Linked DNA regions of Homo sapiens: region 2 is linked to region 1. The links are contacts of gene promoters, found by promoter capture Hi-C in blood cells and fetal thymus (Javierre and others, 2016). All regions are on one chromosome and are shown on one strand. The core of a region is centred on a gene start or on the middle of the fragment in contact, and the rest is flanking DNA. Distances in the headings are between cores, read along the strand shown. Region 1 holds the start of MORC1-AS1 (MORC1 antisense RNA 1). Region 2 overlaps MORC1 (MORC family CW-type zinc finger 1).

The links. Contacts are between HindIII fragments. The CHiCAGO score rates a contact against its expected background, and 5 or more counts as called.
Region 2: a fragment that was not itself captured here is called in contact with the fragment with the promoter of MORC1-AS1 in region 1 in 1 of 17 cell types (M2 macrophages); the score reaches 5.8 in M2 macrophages.

What each region holds. Positions count from the first base shown.
Region 1 is chr3:109,098,906-109,103,181 of GRCh38, reverse strand. MORC1-AS1 (MORC1 antisense RNA 1) reads right to left here and starts at 1,726. Exons shown (of 3, transcript NR_144461.1): 1 at 1,623-1,726. MORC1 (MORC family CW-type zinc finger 1) reads left to right here. Exons shown (of 28, transcript NM_014429.4): 5 at 2,675-2,765; 6 at 3,716-3,824. The HindIII fragment of the contact is 2,885 bases long and covers 1-2,682 here.
Region 2 is chr3:109,022,489-109,026,669 of GRCh38, reverse strand. All of the region lies in intron 17 of MORC1 (MORC family CW-type zinc finger 1), which reads left to right. Among named protein-coding and RNA genes, the nearest start is that of GUCA1C, 71 kb to the right of the region's middle. The HindIII fragment of the contact is 1,348 bases long and covers 1,480-2,827 here.

The DNA.
Region 1 (4,276 bases), core at 477-2,976:
TGTTCCACAAGCCAGGGTTTTTGACCACTAGATTTAAAAAATGGTGAGAGTTCAGTAATATGGAACTGCCATGGTCAGTTCCACAACTGAGGAAAGGATGCATCAGTATGCTCAAATATTGATTTGCTGATAGAAGCTGAAGATATGAGGTATGGCAAATATCTTATTTCAGCTCTGAAGTTTCCCCTTGGTCTGAATAGTTGAAGAGTATTAGCAAGTTTAGAAAGACTGTTTCACCCAGTTTTGTTCTGACTTCGGATAATTTTGATTTTTCCAGGTCATTTTGATTAAAAGTATTCTTGGTCTTTTATTGTTTAAATGAGAAAGAAGAGTTTGTAACAACAACAGAAAAAACCCATGCTGAAAAAAGTAATTTTTCACTTCTAGCCTGAATATTAAGTTCATTTTTTTGAATTCCTAAAATAAATGACAGAATATATGTGATATATTCTAAGGGAATTCCTTATGAAAAGAAGCAACTCTTTTTATATGGGTCATGAACAAAATGTTTGAAACACAGACAAGTGACGGATATTCAGACCTTCAGAAGGAACTCACACTTCAGTTACATAGTAGCATCAACTAGTAATAAAGTAGAAGGAAGATGACTAAAAGTAGAATCTATCCGTTGTTCAAACGGAGCTAGATCAATCTTGACCCATAGAAAATGACTACAGTACTTTCCGGGTTTTTAAAAAATTCTCTAGTCTTGCCCCTTTATAGTCCATTCCCCACACAGCATCCTGAGTGATTTTCTTTCTTTTAATGTACATTTTCCTGCTGAAAATGTACATTAATATCATTTTCCTGCTGAAAACCCTCAGTGGTTTTCCATTACTTAATACAATTTGTACTCTCAGCATCTCTTCCAAGACCTTACATTATTTGGCCCTATGCACCTCTTTGGCCTTTTCTTGTTCTTCCCACTTCCTCCCTTAGAACACTCCACCCACACATGGCTGACCCCTCATCGTTTGAATCCATCTCATGTTAACCATCTGCCAGTGGCCTTCCCTGATCATTCTGTCTGCAGGCCACGTTCCTGTTAATTCTCTATCGCATTACCCTGGTTTTGTTTTCTTCACTTAATACTCAGTCAGAAATGATCTTATTTATTAGTTTACTTTCAATCTGTTTCTCCTACCATGACATAGTGTTGTCCAAGGCAGGAGCCATGCCTGGCCTGTTCAGTGGTTTATTCCCATGCTCAGAACCGGGTAACCATGCACGTGAGTTCATGTAGTGTGTAATGAACACATGGGATTTGGTTCAGAGCTATACCATGTCTGTACCAAGACTTAGAACTTTGGGTTATAATCCTAGCTGTACCCTCTATCAGCTCTGTGACCTTGGGCAGGTTTTTAAAACTCCTTAGACTTACATTTGCTCATCTGTGACATGCAGGTCATAGTAATAATACCTTTCTTGTTTTGTTATAAATATTAAATAAGCTGTGCATGTAAGTATAAACATAGTACCTAGCATATACTAAACAATCAATAAGTGTTAGCTAAGATTGTCATTATGGATATCCTTACCTAATGCCTAACCCCTCATAGGAACATATCATAGGAGGTCCAGTTAGTTTCAGAGAAGCAGAATGTTTGGTGGCTTTTACACACCTCATACCATGTGCCACTGAACTATAGCATATCTGTACCCAGACTGACAGAGGGTCCTCAGGACAATTCTTCAGCATGTATTCAGGTAGGCCAACAAGAAGAACATTCTTGGTTCTGGAGATTGGTATTAATATATTCTGAAGTCCAGAGGATTACTGTCTAGAATTCCAGAATACCTGGAGAGGTCGGGAGAATGATTTGGAACGTCTGAAATGGTTAGCCTTCTTTCCCAGGTAGTATCAGAGCAGAGGTCATCCTGCCCCTCTTAGTCTCACATGGGCCTGGTTAAGGGCTAAATTCGTGGGGAAATTACTAGTGGTACAAGTAATTATAACACTTGTAATTTGGTAACACCCACCAAGTGCCAAGTTTTGTGTTCAGGATTTCACAAATACATCATCTCATTTCATTTGTTTCATTTATCTTCATCAGCAACACCGTGATATAAGTATTACGTAGTTGCCTCTTACACCACATGGAAATTAAGGCTCAGACTTTTAAACTCTACCTAAGGCCACATGGTTAGGTCTGTCTCATCTCTTTCAGTATACAGTTGTTTCTTAGTATCTGTAGGGAATGGATTCCAGGACCTTTCTAGGATACCAAAAGCTGTGGAAAGAAGATGGCACGGTATTTCCGTATAACCTATATATATCCTCCTGTATACTTTAAATCTTTTCCAGGTTCCTTATAATACCCAATGCAGTGTAAATGCTATTAAATAGTTGTTATACTTTGTTGTTTAGAGAATAATGACAAAAAAAAAGTCTGTACGTGGTCAGTCCAGACGCAATTTATTTTTTTCTGAATATTTTCAGTCCAAGATTAGTTGAGTCTATGAATGTGGAGCCTGCCGTACCTTGGGCTGACTGTAATACCATTAAGACCCTTGTCAGAGACTGTGGATTCTGATGAAAATCCTTGTCTCTGGGCTGACCCAAGAGCTATGGGTTTGTCCTGATGTTCTGAGGAATGTGAGGTCCTGACAGCTGGGCCTCAGGCCAGTGTCAAAGAGTCTTCCTAACCACCTTAAAAGTCACTGTCAATTACAGAGGAAGCTTCAGACATCATTTACTTTGGACGATCCAAAAAACGGCTGTCAACCTTGAAGTTCATAGGGCAATACGGCAATGGTCTTAAAAGGTGAGAATTTTTTTTCCCTTAAGACATATATTATTGATACTGGGAACACTGTTTATAAAGCAATTTACACAGAATGATGCAGGCATGTAAAGCTTTAAAAAATATATAAACTTGAGGCAGGGGTGACCTACTTTGTGTTGGAATCTCCATATACAAAACTGACTTTTTTTTTTTGAGACAGATTCTCACTCTGTCACCCTGGCTGGAGTGCAGTGGTGCGATCTTGGCTCACTGCAACCTCCGCCTCCTGGGTTCAAGTGATTCTCCTGCCTCAGCCTCCTGGGCAGCTGGGATTACAGGCATGAGCCACCATGCTCAGCTAATTTTTGTATTTTTGTAGAGACAGAGTTTCACCATGTTGGCCAGGCTAGTCTCGAACTCCTGACCTCAAGTAATCAGCCCGCCTCGGCCTCCCAAAGTACTGGAATTACAGGCATGAGCCACCACGCCCGGCCCATAACTGACTTTTATCTTTACAACATTTTAGGTTAATTCTCCCAAATAATAAAATAAATCCTCTTTCAAAGATTCCTGAAGCGGTACCCCTGTACTTTAGTGCTTTGTTGCATCTCTATGTTCTGTTGTTTCCCAAAGCATATTTTAACCTAGGTGCTGTGTCTGCAGCTCTTTGTTTTAGTATGCTGCATTGAAAGGTCAGGACATGAGGCTCACTTGTACGGCTCCTACCTGAGACAGATGATTGTTCTTTTGAGCCCTGAATGGACCCTTTCCCCTGCAGCCAAACCTCAAGCAAGAGTGTGGAGCTGGCTTAGTTCAAATTCTTCTGCTTTACTTTGAAAAAAAAAAAATTGTACCCTCTTGATGACGGGTCAGCAGAACAGAGTGTTGGAAAGAACATCCTGTTACAGTACACGGTGATAACAGTCTGCCTGTTTCTTCCTTTTTAGTATTTGAGGTGTAAAACATGATGTTCTTCATTTTTAATATAGTGGGTCCATGAGAATTGGAAAAGACTTTATTCTTTTTACGAAGAAGGAAGAAACGATGACCTGTGTGTTTTTTTCTCAGACATTCTGTGAAGAAGAAAGTCTTAGTGAGGTAAGAGTTGAAGTTTTCCTTCTGTTCCCATAGCAATGATGTTGCTTTCATTTACTCTCTCAGGAGGTGAAGTCTTGTCATGGGTTCTTTCTGATATTATTTAGAAACTTAGGAATATGTTTGGGAAATGGAGAGAAGGTATCAAGACATTCTGGGGACATCAAAGACCTGTCCTCTTGACCCTTTCCTGAGAACTTCATTTTCATTATCCATGTGCTCAAATCTCCCAAAGTAAGAGGCTCCCTTAGACATGATGAGCTTTTTAGAAGAAACCTGCAAAATCTTTCCACCATATATGCCATAAATTGATTATCATTTTAAAAATAAATAAAATATTGGAGTCAAAGACTTGGAATACAAAATGTAAAGAAATTAATGCAAAATAGACTTAAAACTGTAACTCTGGTGACCATAATTTCAACTCCATTTGCTGATCCAGAGGCATTTTATTA
Region 2 (4,181 bases), core at 904-3,403, 77 kb after region 1:
CTTTTTGTTATGAAATATTTTAATTTTGTTTCTTATTTACCACACTTGGTAGCTTTGTGAAGGCATTCAGCACATTATGAATTGATTGCATCTTTATTGCCATCTCTGGACATTGTTTTTCTTTTCTATAGCAGTGATAGCCAACCCCAGTATACTAATAATGCCAATCATCAAGACTTAATTAGCTTGTTGTTTGTTTAGAATTGGATGTTGTGTTCATCATTGAGGTAGAGAATCTGATGGCAGCTGGTGGAATAGCAGATTTGGGCCAACAGTTCTGTTTATTCTTTTTTGTTGGTAGTTGATTTTTTTTCATAAGATTTAAGCCAAGGTTATAGATCCAGTTTGTTTCAAATGTAAACAAAGAAATTTAGCAGTACTTATATAGAAATTCACTGCCAGTACTTCAAAGGACATAAGAATCCACTCCATCCTCCTTTTTCCTTTTGCAAAAGGAAGATTTTACAAAATCTTTTTGTGAAAAGATTCCTAACATCTTTTACATACTTTCTGGTACTCAGGGCTTGTAACTGACCCTGCTTTTGTGGTAACCAAGGAAAGCTTTGGGTTGTGGTTCACTGAACCAAAGGCAACCAGTTAATTTTGAGGTGATCATTGAGCACATACTTGCCCTCAGGTCTGTCCCAGGCTGGGAATTATGGGAAATACAGAGTATCTGTAATACCAAAATGTAAGTTCTGTGAGAGCAGGGGTAGTGTTGGTTTTACTTACTGTGAATCTGTATTAACCAAAACAGTGCCTGGCATATACCAGGTACTCAATAGGTAGTTGAATCAATAAGTAAAACATGCCGTCAGATATTATACAGTCTTTTTGTGGATCAAGTCTAACAGCTATTTAAAAATGAGCAACCACTATAAAGTAATATTAATTCACATGTGTTTTCTTATTGTAACTGACACTGCAATAGAAGTTTACTGCAGGAGATAGTGAGGGCAGCTTCAATCAAAGAAAGTTATATAGGGGTGTTGGGCATGGTGGCTCACACCTGTAATCCCAGCACTTTGGGAGGCTGAGATGGGCAGATCACTTGAGGTCAGGAGTTTGAGACCAGCCTGGCCAACATGGTGAAACATCATCTCTACAGAAAATACAAAAAATTAGCTGGGTGTGGTGGCTCACGCCTGTAATCCCAGCTACTTCAGAGGCTGAGGTGGGAGAATCCTTTGAACCTGGGAGGCAGAAGTTGCAGTGAGCCCACGCCACTGCATTCCAGCCTGGGGGAAAGATGAGACTCTGTCTCAAAAAAAAAAAAAAAAAAAAAAAAAAGAAAAAAGAAAAAGAAACCAAAGAAAGTTATATAGGGGAAGTGATACTTGTATCTTGAAGTCTATTTAGGATAAATAGAGGGAAAAGGATAGGGCATTTCAGGTGAGAAAAACAACCTAAAGGAACACTTGGAGCTGAACACTGATTTGTTCTTTCATGGAACCAGTCACTTAAATTACATGTTAAGCTTTCATATTTTAAAAATTAAACTCAGTATTTGTGTGGCATCTCTCTTTTAAAAATGGTGTGACTTGTTACAATGATGCAACTCCCATATAGTTATAATATGGTAATTACTGAACAGAAGACCTCTGAAAGATGACCTTGATTCCTCCTTTCACAAAAATAATCCATGAACATGTTCAGAAACTATGTTTTGGTGATATTTATCTGATGTCAAAACTAAGACTAAAAACCATGCAATGTTCAGTGTAAATTTCCTGTCCTCATTCTAAAACCCTTTAGAAGTAGTTTTGGAATGTGAGATAAGAAAGGATGGGAAAGCTAGAAAAACAGGCCATCATTGGCCCCATTCAGTTTCAAATATAGGCTAGACATCACTGAAAAAATCAAGAACTGGCTAGTTTATTACTATGATTCACTGTATGTCTATTTTTGGTGTCCATTCACCCATTCAGTATCACAGAATCATACAATATATGCCATGTAATTATTATTTGCCCACCTCCTGTTTTCTCTTCCTCCATCCCACTCCCAATGACCACTTATCCATTGACCAGACCTGTGTAGTGAATATAAAAATGACCTAAACCTGCACACCCTATCTCTTAACTCTCTTGCATTTCAGCTTTAATGGTAGCAGGCATCTTGATCTGGAAAATGAAAGGTTGACCAGGTAAATCAAAAATCTTTCTGGATTTTAGGTTCTATGGGTATCTAATGATTAGATGGTAAGAGAGTTATCCTAATTATTAGATGTTGTCCCATAGGAGAAAATGAAGTAGCTAGATCTAAAGGTATCGTTTCCACATGGTATCTTATTTAATTCCTACAACATTCCAGCTAGTTATATCTATTTTAACAAAGAGGAAAGTGAAATCCAAAAAAGTTAAAAATAATTTTAATCAAAGCACGTAACTTTAAATGGTGAAGTTGGAATTTATTTCCTTTTTGCCCAATTCCAGCACCATATTTCTCGCAGTCTTATAGGAAAAATACAGACAAAAAGGACATAAGAACATTTACAGTAGCAACAAACTTATATATTGCAAATCATATTTGTTAAGGGAAATACCTAAGTTCAGTAAACCTAATAGGAGAGCTCAAATTCAAGATCTGTCACCTGTGGTGCATTTTATAGACTAAAGGGGTTGTCCTCCATGTAATTGATAAGCTATGTCAACAAGCCAAGATCCTTGTTATAAATTGTGCTTCTGAATACAACCCATCCCCATCTTTATCCTTTTGAATAGATGAATAAGTAATCTGTTTCTAACTACTTTCAGCTTCATTCCACATTACCTGCTGTTTTCTATACCGAGTGACAAGTGCCACCTGCTGGCCAAGTGATGAAGCTTTTATTTCTATTGTTTCACTGGATTGCTCAGTTGTAATTGGCATATTAGCTGGATAATTGTTATTTTTTGGTAAACCTAGGCAATAATTTAAAAACCATAATGTTATAAAATAAATTTCTCTGTATTTCAGGACCTCTCCGTTCTCAAATTTGCCTCTTTCTCAGATTTAACTTAAAATTTCTCTTCTACCTTCTATTGTGTGACAAGGATGATTGTGTCATTATCATGCACACAGAATCTAGTTTTAGTTACACTTTATTCAGGATTTTATGGTACCATCTAAAATCCACTTAATACCCTCAATCATTAAAAGACAGATCATACCTTTCTCCCTGAATTAAGCTACCCTATATTTACCCCTTTATACCTAAGTAATGTTAATGAGTAGTGTATTTGCATAATCAATATATTTCTGCAATGTGTGATGAATTGCTTATGTGTCCCCTAGGTCTTTCTGAATTAATCTTTTGTATTTACTATACATTTCTTGGCCTACAGCCCAGGCTGTCTATAATCTGACACTAGTTGCCTTTCTATTAATATAATAGCATTCGTTTCTTTCACTCTGTATGGTGCTGCTACTGAGCTTCTCCATATTTCTTACAAGTGTTCACTTCCATGTGGCTCTGCAGGCCTTTGTTTGTGCATTCTTGTCTGGAGCAGCCTCTGGTCCTTCTCCAGTCCTTCAAGATCCAAAACTATTGCCAATCCCTGTATGATTTACCTACTTAGAAAAGTATCTCCTTCATTTCATTTACCTACTTGGAAAAGTATCTCCTTCATTTACCTACTTAGAAAAGTATCTTTCATTTACCTACTTAGAAAAGTACCTTCTTCCTTCCAGTTCCCTTTGTCCCATGTGGTTTTTCTTAGAGCATGTTTTACTTCTACCTGGTATTATAGTCACTTTATGTCTAATATTATAGTTACTTATGTGTCTCATCTGTCTGCCATATCAGACTATATGCTTTTTGAAATAAAGGACTATTTCTCTTCATCTTTGCATTCCCAATAGTACCTAGGCCTGCAGCTTTCATGTAATAGGTATTTAGCAAACAATGAAGGATGGAAAGAATAATTTGATTTATGCAGAATTCCTGAAAGGTGAATATTTTATATTTGATTGGATTGGTTGACTCTACATAGGTTAGGCTGACCAACTTCTGCATATATTACTGAAGACCAAAATGTTCTTATACCTGGTCACAATAAACTGTTGTATTTGGATTGGAGTACAGAGACTGCATTTGGATTTCATTCGTCATGTTCATAGTCATCCCATCAAATATATAGCATTTATAAGACTTCATGCCTGGTGAGAAGAAACTCCAGCAATAGAATTCTGTTCTTCTT